Regions from separate parts of the Homo sapiens genome. Here region 2 is linked to region 1. The links are contacts of gene promoters, found by promoter capture Hi-C in human tissues and cell types (Jung and others, 2019). All regions are on one chromosome and are shown on one strand. Each heading gives the region's core, a stretch centred on a gene start or on the middle of the fragment in contact. The rest is flanking DNA. Distances are from core to core; before and after follow the strand shown. Region 1 holds the start of CYP2F1 (cytochrome P450 family 2 subfamily F member 1). Region 2 holds the start of CYP2A6 (cytochrome P450 family 2 subfamily A member 6).

What was found. Contacts are between HindIII fragments. The study calls those that stand out against the background at their distance.
Region 2: the fragment with the promoter of CYP2A6 here is called in contact with the fragment with the promoter of CYP2F1 in region 1 in 5 of the 25 tissues and cell types used here (H1 embryonic stem cells, adrenal gland, heart left ventricle and 2 more).

The regions. Positions count from the first base shown.
Region 1 is chr19:41,110,039-41,116,071 of GRCh38, forward strand. It overlaps CYP2F1 (cytochrome P450 family 2 subfamily F member 1), which reads left to right and starts at 4,394. Exons shown (of 10, transcript NM_000774.5): 1 at 4,394-4,454. The HindIII fragment of the contact is 13,902 bases long and covers 1-6,033 here.
Region 2 is chr19:40,847,703-40,853,513 of GRCh38, forward strand. CYP2A6 (cytochrome P450 family 2 subfamily A member 6) reads right to left here and starts at 2,745. Exons shown (of 9, transcript NM_000762.6): 1 at 2,545-2,745; 2 at 2,116-2,278; 3 at 912-1,061; 4 at 517-677. The coding sequence starts at 2,724. RefSeq lists enhancers at 604-1,103, 3,913-3,941, 5,137-5,171 and promoters at 2,724-3,743, 2,724-2,860. The HindIII fragment of the contact is 10,166 bases long and covers 1-5,811 here.

The DNA.
Region 1 (6,033 bases), core at 3,144-5,643:
TGAAAAGGAATGAGCTTCTGATGTATGTAACACATGGTTAACTCTCAAAAGCATTACGTATGCTTCCCAGAAGCAGGCTTGGTATATGGAAGAAATGCTGTAGATTTTCTTTTCTTTTTTTTTTTTTTGAGACGGAGTCTCGCTCTGTCGCCCAGGCTGGAGTACAGTGGCATGATCTTGGCTCACTGCCACCTCCGCCTCCCAGGTTCAAGTGATTCTCCTGCCTCAGGCTCCCGACTAGCTGGGATTACAGGCACCCTCCATCAAGTCCAGCTAATTTTTGTATTTTTCATAGAGAGAGGGGTTCACCACGTTGGCCAGGCTGGTCTCAAATTCCTGACCTCAGGTGATCCACCCGCCTCAGCCTCCCAAAAAGCTAAGATTACAGGCGTGAGCCACCATGCCCAGCCGTAGATTTTCATTTATATGAAATGTAGATCAATAGTGGGAAGAAAAAACTAGAACAGGGCTGGATGCAGTGGCTCAAGCCTGTAATCCCAGCACTCTGGGAGGCTGAGGCAGAAGGATTGCTTGAGCCCAGGAGTTCGAGATCAGCCTGGGCAACATAGGGAGACCTCTGCCTCTACAAAAAATTTTTAAATTAGCCAGTTGTGATGGCACAGGCCTCTACTTCCAGCTACTCAGGAGGCTGAGGCCGGGGGATCATTTGAGCCAGGGAGGTCAAGGTTGCAGTGAACAATGATCACACCACTGCACTCCAGCCTGGGGGACAGAGCAAGACCCTGTCTCAAAAGAAGAGAAAAAAACCTAGAACAATGGTTGCCCACAAGAGATGGAGCATGGTTGACTAGGAAGGAGTAGGAAGGAGGGTTCTCTTTTCATTATTATTATTACTTTAGAGAAGGGAGTCTCTCTTTGTCACCCAGGCTGGAGTGCAGGGGTGTGTTCATAGCTCACTGTAGCCTGGAACTCCTGGGTGCAAGTGATCTTCCACCTCAGCCCCTTGAGTAGCTGGGATTACAAGCGTGCACCACCACACTTAGCTATTGTTTTTTTCTTTTTTTTAGTAGAGACAGGGGTCTCGCAATGTTGCACAGCCTGGTCTCAAATTTCTGGCCTCTAGTGATCCTTCCACCTCAGCCTCCTATAGCTAGGATTATAGGCACAAACCACCACGCCCAGCTCCAAGAGAACTTTCTTGGATGATGAAAATATTCTGTATCTTCACAGGGATTTCGATACCTTCAAAATTCAGCAAATGTTCACTTACCATGTGTGTATTTCATCACAGGTAAATTTTACCTAAAGAAATCGTTAAGGGAAAACTCCATCTACACACCTTCACAGGAACTATGACACAGTAAATAGAATCAAGTCCTCCAGTTGGCGATGGAATGGGATCTGGCACACCAGAAGGGGGCTCACCTAAGCCTGACATGGGACACTGTGTGGTTCTAGCAGGAAGGAAGGCTGCATGTGCCGTCCAGATGCCAGTGGGCAAGAGGACAGGATGATGGAGGATGCGCCCGCTTACTGCCCATTGCTGCCATTCTCTCCGTGAGATAAGAAGCGGGTTCATCAACAAAGAGTGAGGTGACTGAAGAGGGTTTTGGAGTTTGAGGAGGCAGGAACAAAAGGATAGGAATAGGGCGGGGGGAGTTCCAAGAGAGGACAATGAGAGGCGAGGCATTTTTCCACCACGGAGTGTGTTTCAGCTTTCTGCAATACCCCAGCGGTTCTCAACTGGGTTGATTTTTTTCCTCCCAAGGGGACATTCAATAGTATCTGGAGTCATGTTTGTTTGTAACAACTGGTAGGGAATGAGTGGGTGGGTTCTGTCATCTACTGAGTAGAAACCAAGGACACTGCTAAACATCCTACCACACACAGGATGCAGCCCCCACCACCCATGAAGGCCCAAGACATCAACAGCAGTGAGTTGAGAAATTGCAATACATCCCTTCCTTGCCCCAAGTTCCCTCTGTAGCAGGAGAGCAAGTCAGAATAACAGAACTCAAAGCCTCTTAAAACCCCCCTTCTCGGCCACACATGGTGGCTCACGCCTGTAATCCCCAGAGGCCCAGGTGGGAGGATCGCTTGAGCCCAGGAGTTGGGGACCAGACTGGGTGACATAGCATGCTAGATCTCATCTCTACTAAAAATTTTAAAAATTAGCCAGGTGTGGTGATGCGTGCTTGTAGTCCCAGCTACTTGGGAAGCTGAGGCAGGAGAATCCCTTAAGCCCAGGAGATCGAGGCTGCAATGAGCTATGATCACACCACTAAACTCCAGTCTGGGTGACAGAGTGAGACCCTGTGTCAAAACAAACTAACTAACTGCCCTTCCCATAAATCCCAGTTTCCCCAATCAGGTGGTCCCATTAGGCCCATCTTTTTTTTCTTTTTTTTTCTTTTTTTTGAGTCAAAGTTTCACTCTTGTTGCCCAGGCTGGAGTGCAATGGTACAATCTCAGCTCACTGCAACCTCCACCTCCCGGGTTCAAGTGATTCTCCTGCCTCAGCCTCCTGAGTAGCTGGGATTATAGGCAAGCACCACCACGCCTGGCTAATTTTTTTTGTATTTTTAGTAGAGACAGGGTTTTGCCATGTTGGTCAGGCTGTCTCAAACTCCTGACCTCAGGTGATCCACCCACCTCGGCCTCCCAAAGTGCTGGGATTACAGGCATGAGCCACCACGCCCAGCCTCATTAGGCCCCTCTTAACCAAGTTCTAGGGTGAGGGATAAGTTGCTTACAGGGTTGGCGTGGATACAGCACTACACCCTCCCCTTAAAAGTAGGGAGTAGACGCCAAGGGAAACTAGAGCTATATAATCCCATCATCAAGCCTTCAGCCCTCTTCCAGGACCTGCCCCAACCGGCCTATCCAGGACTGAAACAACAGCATGGGCCCCACCTCCACCCCACCATATGCCTGGGACCTAGGGTGTCAAATTCCCCAGGACCTCCAAACACTTCCTCCTCTGCCCCTCTGAGAACAGCAATCCTGGTGCACACCCACGAACCTGTGGGGGTACCCACACCTCCACCTGGCCTCCCAGACCCTTGACCGCAGGGGCTCTCCACCCAGCCTAGCCCCTGGCACCAGAGCCCTGGCCCAGCTCCAGGTTTTGCATTCTGCCCTTGTGACCTGGCCAGGAGGTGGGTAACTAGGGCCAGTTTCTTCTTCTTTTTTTTTTTTTTTTTTTTTTGAGACCGAGTCTCACCCTGTTGCCCAGGCTGGAGTGCAGTGGCATGTTCTTAGCTCACTGCAACCTCCACCTCCCGGGTTCAAGCGATTCTCCTGCCCCAGCCTCCCAAGTAGCTCAGACTACAGGCGTGAGCCACCATGCCTGGCTAATTTTTGTATTATTAGTAGAGACAGGGTTTCACCATGTTGGCCAGGCTGGTCTTGAACTCCTGACCTCAGGTGATCCACCCACCTCGGCCTCCCAAAGTGCTGGGATTACAGGCGTGAGCCACTGCGCCTGGCCTACTAGGGTGAGTTTCTAAGGCAGGAGCTGAGAGTAGACATGGCTAGTAGGGTGCTCAGGAGGGCAGGAGGAGGGCTGTTTATGAGCCAGTGGTGGGAGAGAGTGTCATTCTAGTCTGAGAGGCTTTTTCCCTGTGGCTTCCAGCTCTGCCCTTTTCTTAAACACTCCTTCAGCCTCAGCTTGGCTTCAGTCCCACCAAGTGCAGTCTGACTCGTGGAGACATGAGAGATAGAGAGAGTGAGAGACCAGAGAGATCAGGAGACAGTGACTGAGAGGGACTTACAGGGAGATCAGGGAGAGAAGCAGAGAGAAGGAGAAAGCCCAGAGAGCATAAGAAATGAAGACCCAGAGACACCAAAGGAGGGAGAGACAGAGACACAGAGAGACAAAAAGATTCAGAGGCAGAGACTGTAGAGGCAGAAGCAAAGCAAGACACAGAGCATTTCAGAGACCCACGGCAAGAGACAGGGAACAGCATGGAGAACTATGAAAAAATAGGCTTCCAGAGAAAGAGAAAACTCCAGCTCTGGAGGGAAAGGGACTTAGCCAGGGCCACTCGGCCCATCAGTGGCAGAAATGGACTTGAACCCAGAGAAAAAGAAACAAGTGCCCCAAATACCAAAGGAACCCAGCCCCCATCCCTGGCCCATCATTTTGCGACAGCCCCATGACTACCCCAAAACCAGGCCCAGGCTCCAACTGGCAAAGCAAAAAAAAAAAACAAAGAAAGAAAGAAAGCTTTGCCCCATCCCAGGAGGGCCCCCAGGCGCAGCCCCCTCCCACGGCACCTTTCCAGCTGGCTGTGAGCCCTAGGGCCGCAGGAAAGGTATGGCAAGATGATGGGAGGGATTTAAAGTTCACAGCGAGAACAAGAAAAGTGGGGTTAAGGAGGAGGGTGTGGGCAGAAACAACTTAAGAACAACCTCTGCCCCACCACCCCCCAAGCACACCCAGAGCTGCAGGCTCTAGCGCATCCCAGCCAGTGTCTCCTGCAGCTCAGCAGGTAAAGGGCCCCGGTGAGGGAGGCAGAGAAGGAGGGGGTGTCTCCCAAGAGAGGGTGGGTCGCCAGCTCCAATCTCTGTCTCTGAGACTGGCTAGGAATCTTTTTTGCTGTTTCCTCTGAGAGCTCTCATGTCCCTGTTCTGAGCACTGGGATTTCTTTACTGGTGCTTCACCAAGTAGGTGGCTTCTCTCTCTGCAATGCAACCCCATGGTTGGCAACACTTGATTTTTTCCTGTCACTGTTTCTGCCTGTGCCCTTCCTCTCTGTCTCCGTCTCTTTCTCTCTCTCTCTCTCTCTTTTTTTTTTTTTTTTTTTTTTTGAGGCTGGAGTGCAGTGGTTCAATCTCAGCTCACTGCAACCTCCACCTCCTGGGTTCAAGCGATTCTCCTGCCTCAGCCTCCTGAGTAGCTGGGATTACAGGTGCCTAACACCACGCCTGACTAATTTTTGTGTTTTTAGTAGAGACAGGGTTTCACCATGTTGGCCAGGCTGGTCTCAAACTCCTGACCTCAAGTGATCCGCCTGCCTCGGCCTCCCAGAGTGCTGGGATTACAGGCGTGAGCCACCGTGCCCGGCCTCAGTCTCTCTTGGTCTGCCCTTTGCAGCCTACCCGTCTCTTTGTGTGGCTCTAATATTCCCTGCCTCTCTTATTCTCTCTCTCTCTCTCTCCATCTCTGTCTATGTGACTCTGTCTTTGTGTATCTGTTTCTGTCTGTCATTCTCGTCTCCCTCAGTCTCTGTGTCTAGCTCTGTCTCTCCCTCTCTCTGTCCCTCTTACCCTTTTTCTCTCCATCCTTCCATGTCCCTCTCTGTCTCTCAGTCAGTGTCCATCTCACTGTCTCTCCACTCAATCTCCCTTGTCTTTCTCTAGCTCTGTGTCTGTCTAGTTCTGTCTCTTTCTTTCTCTAGTCTATGTCAGCCTCTCTCTTTCTGTGATGTGCTCTCTGGCTCTCCCTATCTCTGTGTTTGTCTGTCTCTGTCCCTGTGTGTCTTGATCTCTCTTTATCACTGTCTCTGTATGACAGTCTCTTGACAGACAGGTGATGATAGATAGATAATAGACAGATGATACACAGATGATAGATTATGAAGATAGTAGATAGATGATAGATATAGATAGATAATAGATGATAGATAATAGACAGATCAATGATAGATGATAGAAGAATAGATAGATGATGGATAGACAGATGATAGATGATAGATAGATAGATAGATGATAGATAGATGTTGATAGATGTTAGATAATAGATGAGAAACAAAGAAAGAAAGAAAAAGAAAAAAGAAAGAAAGAAAAAGAAAGGAAGGAAGGAAGGAAAGAAAGAGTGATAGATGATAGATGGCTGATAGGTAGACAGACATCTGTAGATATGTAGATCGCTCACTGTTTTTCTGTCTCTCTCATTATCTTTATGCATATCTCTTGGCCTCTCTTAGTCTCTGTTCCTCTATCACTTGCCTCTCTCCATTTATGTCTCTGTGTTTCTGTCTCCTTATCTGTCTATATGTTGACTATCTCTGCCTCTTTCCTCCTTTCTCCCTCCCTTCCCCATCCCCTGGCCTCTCCCTGTCTCCTTCT
Region 2 (5,811 bases), core at 1,495-3,994, 260 kb before region 1:
GTCCATGTTTTCAGGTATTTAAGTGGGTGAAGTAGAGGGCGCTTGGCCAGATATTCCAGTGGGCTAATCTGGGACATTTGTGTAGATGTGAAATGATTATGATGGGCTGGATTTTGCAGCACCAGGTGTTCAGGTATGCAGGAGGCCGGTTGACGCAGTCACTTGTCCAGGTGTTAAAATATTCAGAAGAACTGGGTAGGGAGCATCTGTTAGAAATTACGGTAAGTTGGGGATGGGAACACGTGCCCAGGTGAGAGAGCTGAGCTGAGGGTATGCATCCTGCCAGCAGGCTCTGTTTTGGGGAGCATCTGTTGAGCTATCCAGGTGTCCTTGGAGACAGGGTATTGGACATCCATCCTGGGTTCTGGTGCAACTGTCCAGTTGTCCAATATCGGGGACTGATTTTGAGGGGACACTGTCTGGAGGGCGGTGGGAGTTTGGGGCACCTGTCTCCAGGTAGGGGAGCAGTTGGCAGGTTGTGGTAGGGGCGTCACGGGCCGGGCTGCAGCCAGTTACCTGCCCCGTGGAGGTTGACGTGAACTGGAAGATTCCTAGCATCATGCGCAACAGTGACAGGAACTCTTTGTCCTTATAGTCAAAGCGGTCCCCAAAGACAATGGAGCTGATGACATTGGAGACTGTGCGGCTCAGGAAGAAGGTGGGATCGATATTGGCGCCTGCGGGTATGGCGGGAGAAGGGGGTTGGGGAGAGAGTCAACTCAGAGGTCTGAGGAGAGTCAGAATTCCAGGAGGCAGGGCCTTGTTGAGCCAAATTCCCAGCGCCAGACTCCAGGGCTGGAAGTGCGGGCGCCTTTCCCCACCTAGTCCCCATCCCCAGGCAGAACGCGCGCGGGTTCCTCGTCCTGGGTGTTTTCCTTCTCCTGCCCCCGCACTCGGGGTCCCCTGCTCACCGCCAGTGCCCCGGAGGGCGTCGATGAGGAAGCCCGCCTCCTCCTGGATGCGCTCCTCGATGCCTCGCTTGCCCACCCCGAAGTCCCGCAGGGTGGCGATGGAGAAGCGCCGGAGCTGCTTGGCGCGCTCCCCGTTGCTGAATACCACGCCTGGGGAGGTGAACGCGGGAATGGAGACAGGCCAGGGGGCGGCAGGGGCAGGAGCGGAGCAGCTCCAAGGGGCTCCCCAAGGGTGGAGGAGAGAGGGAGTAGGGTGGGAGAGAGATGGATTCAGCGCCATTGCCCAGCAGAGCTGCAAACTCAGTCAGAGAAACACGATGTCGAGGTAGAGAGAGAGAGAGAGAGAGAGAGAGAGAGAGAGAGAAGAGAGAGAGGAGAGAGAGAGAGAGAGAGAGAGAAGAGAGAGAGGAGAGAGAGAGAGAAGAGAGAGAGGAGAGAGAGAGAGAGAGAGAGAGAGAGAGAGAGAGAGAGAGAGACCAGGTTTAAAGAATAAGACAATCAGAAAAGAAACAGAAAGGCCAGACAGAGAGATGCACATAGAAACAGAGGGATAAGGGGACACTCCATGGAGGAAGGGAAGGAAGTGGGGAGAGAAAGAGAGTGATGGAGGAAGAGGATGGAGGGAGGGGAAGTGAGATATGGGGAGATCTGGGAGGAGGAAATAAAAATGGTGAAAGATTCTTAAGCTGAGCTGGAGAAGAGAGAAAAATATTGAGATAGAAACAGAGAGGGTCTGGAAGGAAGAGAGACTGTTACCAGGAGATGGAGGCTGAAGATGTGGAAGTAGGAATACCCTGAAATCCTAAGACAGAGGAAGAAGTGAGAAAGGGATGCGGAGAGATGAGAAACACAGAGAAGCCCAGAAGCTAAGAGGGACAAAAAGACAAATGAAGACAGAGAACCAGGGCTGGAAAACAGAAACCCAGGATGTCCTTAGAGATGGAGAGAGAGGGGAAAGAGGAGACTCCAGTGAGAGAGAATAAGGAGGTGGGGCAGAGAGAGGCAGGGAGGAATCAGGACAGGGACGCTGGAGACAGGTGAGGGATACACATGGAGAGGCCACAATGAAGGGAGATGGGGAGGGAAGACCAGACTGGGGACTCTGCCTTAGCCTCCAGTTGGCAGGAGAGTCAGGGAGAAGGCTGGGAACACTGAGACCTTCGTGTCCACCTGGCCACCTTCCCCCTCTTGGGCACCCCCTCACCATAGCCTTTGAAGACCCAGTCGAAGGTGGCTTGCTCGCCTCGCCCGCTGAACTCCTCAGCCTGGTCCACCAGAGCCTCCCTGACGGCATCATGTCCACACAGCACCACGACCCGCCGGGGCCCCAAGTGAATGGTGAACACGGGGCCATAGCGCTCACTGATCTGATGGAGGTGGGTGGGAGTGGTTAGAGGGAGAAGCCTCCACTCTGAATGGGGCCCAGCACCGAGATGTCATGTGCTGGGATGCTTCGCACCCAGGTTCTCACAGTCAGGGAGCTGGACATCCCAAGATCCTGTCTTTCTGATGCTGAAACTCCAAAACTCCATTTCCTAAGACTCTGGTCCACACTGGTCAACCCCCTGCCACAAAGCCCCAGCCAACTAGGCAGCCCCCACCCCGTGCCACCCATCTCCCTGCCTTGGGACACCTTCATGAGGGAGTTGTACATCTGCTCTGTGTTCAGCTGCAGGTAGTTTCCAATGAAGGGCAATGGGGTGGGTCCCGGAGGCAGCTTCCCCTTGCTCTTCCTCTGCTGCCAAACAGACATCAAGACCATTACAGTCAGGCAGACCAGCAAGGCCACCAGAAGCATCCCTGAGGCCAGCATGGTGGTAGTGGGATGATAGATGGTGACGGCTGGGGTGGTTTGCCTTTATACTGCCTGAAAAAGAGGGATGGACTTTGGCTGATTACATAATTACCTCATTTCACCTCCCAACTACATGCCCCACCATGAATCCTGCCTAGCTTGGGACACAGCCAGCAAGGGAGGATAAGGGGACCCCAGGGCAGCTGAACAGAGAGGGGGCCTCCAGACTAAATCTGTGGTACTTCAGGAGGGGTGCCGCAGGGCTGTGGATTTAGGAGGGGGCAACAGATAAGCTGTAGAACTGAGGAGTTTGGAATATTTGCATAGGGGAGCACTTGGGCTTTGGATTTGGGGTCTGAGAGTGAGAATGCACCCCAAAGTTGTGGATCTGGGGGTTCCAGGGGAGAGGAATCCAAAGGTCTGGGTTTTATTAGGGTAAGACAAAGTGTGGCTGTGCATTTAGGGGTCTTCTGTTGTGGAGGATGCAGGGTTAAGGGTCTCAGGAAGGGGGATTCCAGGCATATGGACTTGAAAGTCTCGGGGCTAGGAAGACCCAGGGCTGTGGGTGTGGAGTTTCTGGGAGGAGGAGTGTGTAGCAAGCCCAGCGGGTTCTCCCAGAAAGCCCAGCAGCCCAGCACTGGGTCCAGGGGCTGACTTGATTTTGCTTTTGCCCAGAGCTGTCTCTTGATGCCCAGAATCCTCATTGGAACCTCAGAGTGAGGCCAGGATGGGTGCCATAGAACCTCCACTGCCCATCTCTGATTGGGAAGGGGAGGAAGACCAGAGCCATATTTCAGGGGAACTTTCCCCACACCTGGAGAAGAGTACCTGGAGTTAGCGGTTGGCAGAGGGATTGGCTAGGTCTGGAGAAATAGTAATAACAACCCCCAAATGGTGGAAAAATCTCAAGTGTCCCAAGGGTTGTCCGCTGGTTTCCAACCCAGATCCTCAGGGAAACCCACTAGATTGATTGTATCATCCCTATTAATATTATGATTGTTGTTTATGTTTCTCATTTTATATAAAGATCTACAGAGGACAGAAAACAGACAGTGGGCAGGGGACATGTGTGAGTGGCCCTGAACTCCCATCTCTCCTGCTCTGTGTACTTAGTTCCCCTTTCTGGATTTGGTTTTCCTGCCAGTGGAAAGGGAGTGTTTGGGAAGAGAAGATCACATTCGAGGGTGAGTTAAGTCTCCTTTAAGAATGATTCCTGCTTTGTCAGGGGCTACTACTATTAGCAGGCAGAGGGAACAGTGGCAGAAGAGATTGGGGTAAACTCCAGTATTAGGCACAGAGGCAGATCCTGGGGTGGGTGTGAGTGGAGAAGGGATGAGTAGCCCTCCTGTCCTTCCCTCAGGGAAATTCTTCCTTAGTAAACAGGACAGTTACCCTTTGGTGAGCATGGTCGTATACGGGAAGATTAAGTCTAGGTGTGTATGATCTGGTTGAATCTTTGTAACAATGAGGTTGGTTCATCATGATCATCCTCATTTTGAAGATGAGCAGATCTAGACTCCATAAATCCTCTTGAGTGAGGTCACACAGGGAGTAAGTGAGGGAGCTGGGATGTGAACTTTCTCCTCACCCCCCTTCATTGACTGGCCTAGATCACCCTGGGAGTCAAGTGCAGGCCAGCCTTAGCAGGAGGTGAGTGCTGGGACTGGCATCAGCAGTGGACACACTGATGACATTGGTGGGTTCTGATATCAGCATCAGGTATGGCCAGGGAGGGAAAGGCATCGTGTTGGCTTTGGGACTGCCCCCAGGTGTATGCGAGGATGGGAAACAAGTTGGCACTGAACTTGACACCAGGAGAATATTGAAGTCATGTTTGGTGCCAAGAGGGCTCTGTGTGTTGTCTCAGGTGTCATTGAGGGCATAAGAGTGTCCTGCTTCAGGAGGGCGTAAGGGTGGCACCATATAGGGTCTGAGGTTGGTCCCAGTGGGCTGTGACATGAGCATGAGGCAGGTGCTGATATTGGTCCTATGTGGGTCTGAGATGAGCCTCAGCCAGACCCTGAGAGGGGCCCCAGATGGCCACAGGACAGGCTGTGGTGGTTGGACCATTTAGGGTTGCACCTGTCCTCTGGGTCACCAACTTTGGACAAGTGGAGGTGGGTGAGGTTGGCACCCCCAGGACTGACATCTTGCTCAAACTGTTCTAGGATGCTGAGCTCTGAGACCTGTGTGGAGGGAACAAAGGTCAGAGAACAAGGCAGAGAGAGGAAAGTTGTTTGTTGATTTTGGAGGGGAAGAGGTGGGAAGGAAGATTAGCACCAGCTTGGCAGATATCAATCGCTCTAATCCTGTTCACCAGTCTGCACCTGGGCCTGGCTCCTCCTTTTCCTTCGTGTTTCTTAAAAAGGTGGGAGACAGAAATCTGGGGAGTTTGTTTCTCACTGGGGTTGGCACTAGGAAGTGCACTGAGTGATCAGCAGGTTGCCATGACCTGGCCAGGGAGGGGATGGGGAGAGACAGGTTGGGAGAACTCTAGTATTTGTGGACATAGAGGTCAATGAATTTTGGACTTGTTGATTACCCTAGAGCATGGAGTGAGAGAATGGTGTCTGAAATCATGTGGGAGGGACTTGTCCCAGTGGGCAGTGTCTTGGGAACAGGCTTTCAGAGTGAGTTAGTGGCGAGCCCAGGAAGATCCCTTTCCTTTGCTGGGCCTCAGTTTCCCTTTCTGAATGGATGGTGCAATGATTAAGGCCTGGATTGGAATCCTAACCTTATCCTTTCTTTGTTGTGTGGCTTTGAACAGCTGACTTCATCTCTCTGAGTCTTATGGAGCCAAGAACAGCTCCTACCTCTTTGGCTATTTAGGGGAGAAGTATAAGTGTTAATGCAGATGAGGTACATGGCAGTAAGTGCTCAATGAATGGTAGTTGTTCTCTTTAATCTGTAGGATGAAGCGGATGGATGAGATGTTCCCTAAGCACATTCCTTGCTTTTACATTCTCTAGTCTAAAGCTCACAAATCTTTTCCTTTGGGAAGGAGGAAAGGGACAGAGTCTTTGGGAACCTCCTTCGCCATCCCTTCCTCAGCACAGCCAAGCTTTACCCCATGGAGCTGTGAATAGGAAATTAATCCTTCATGGC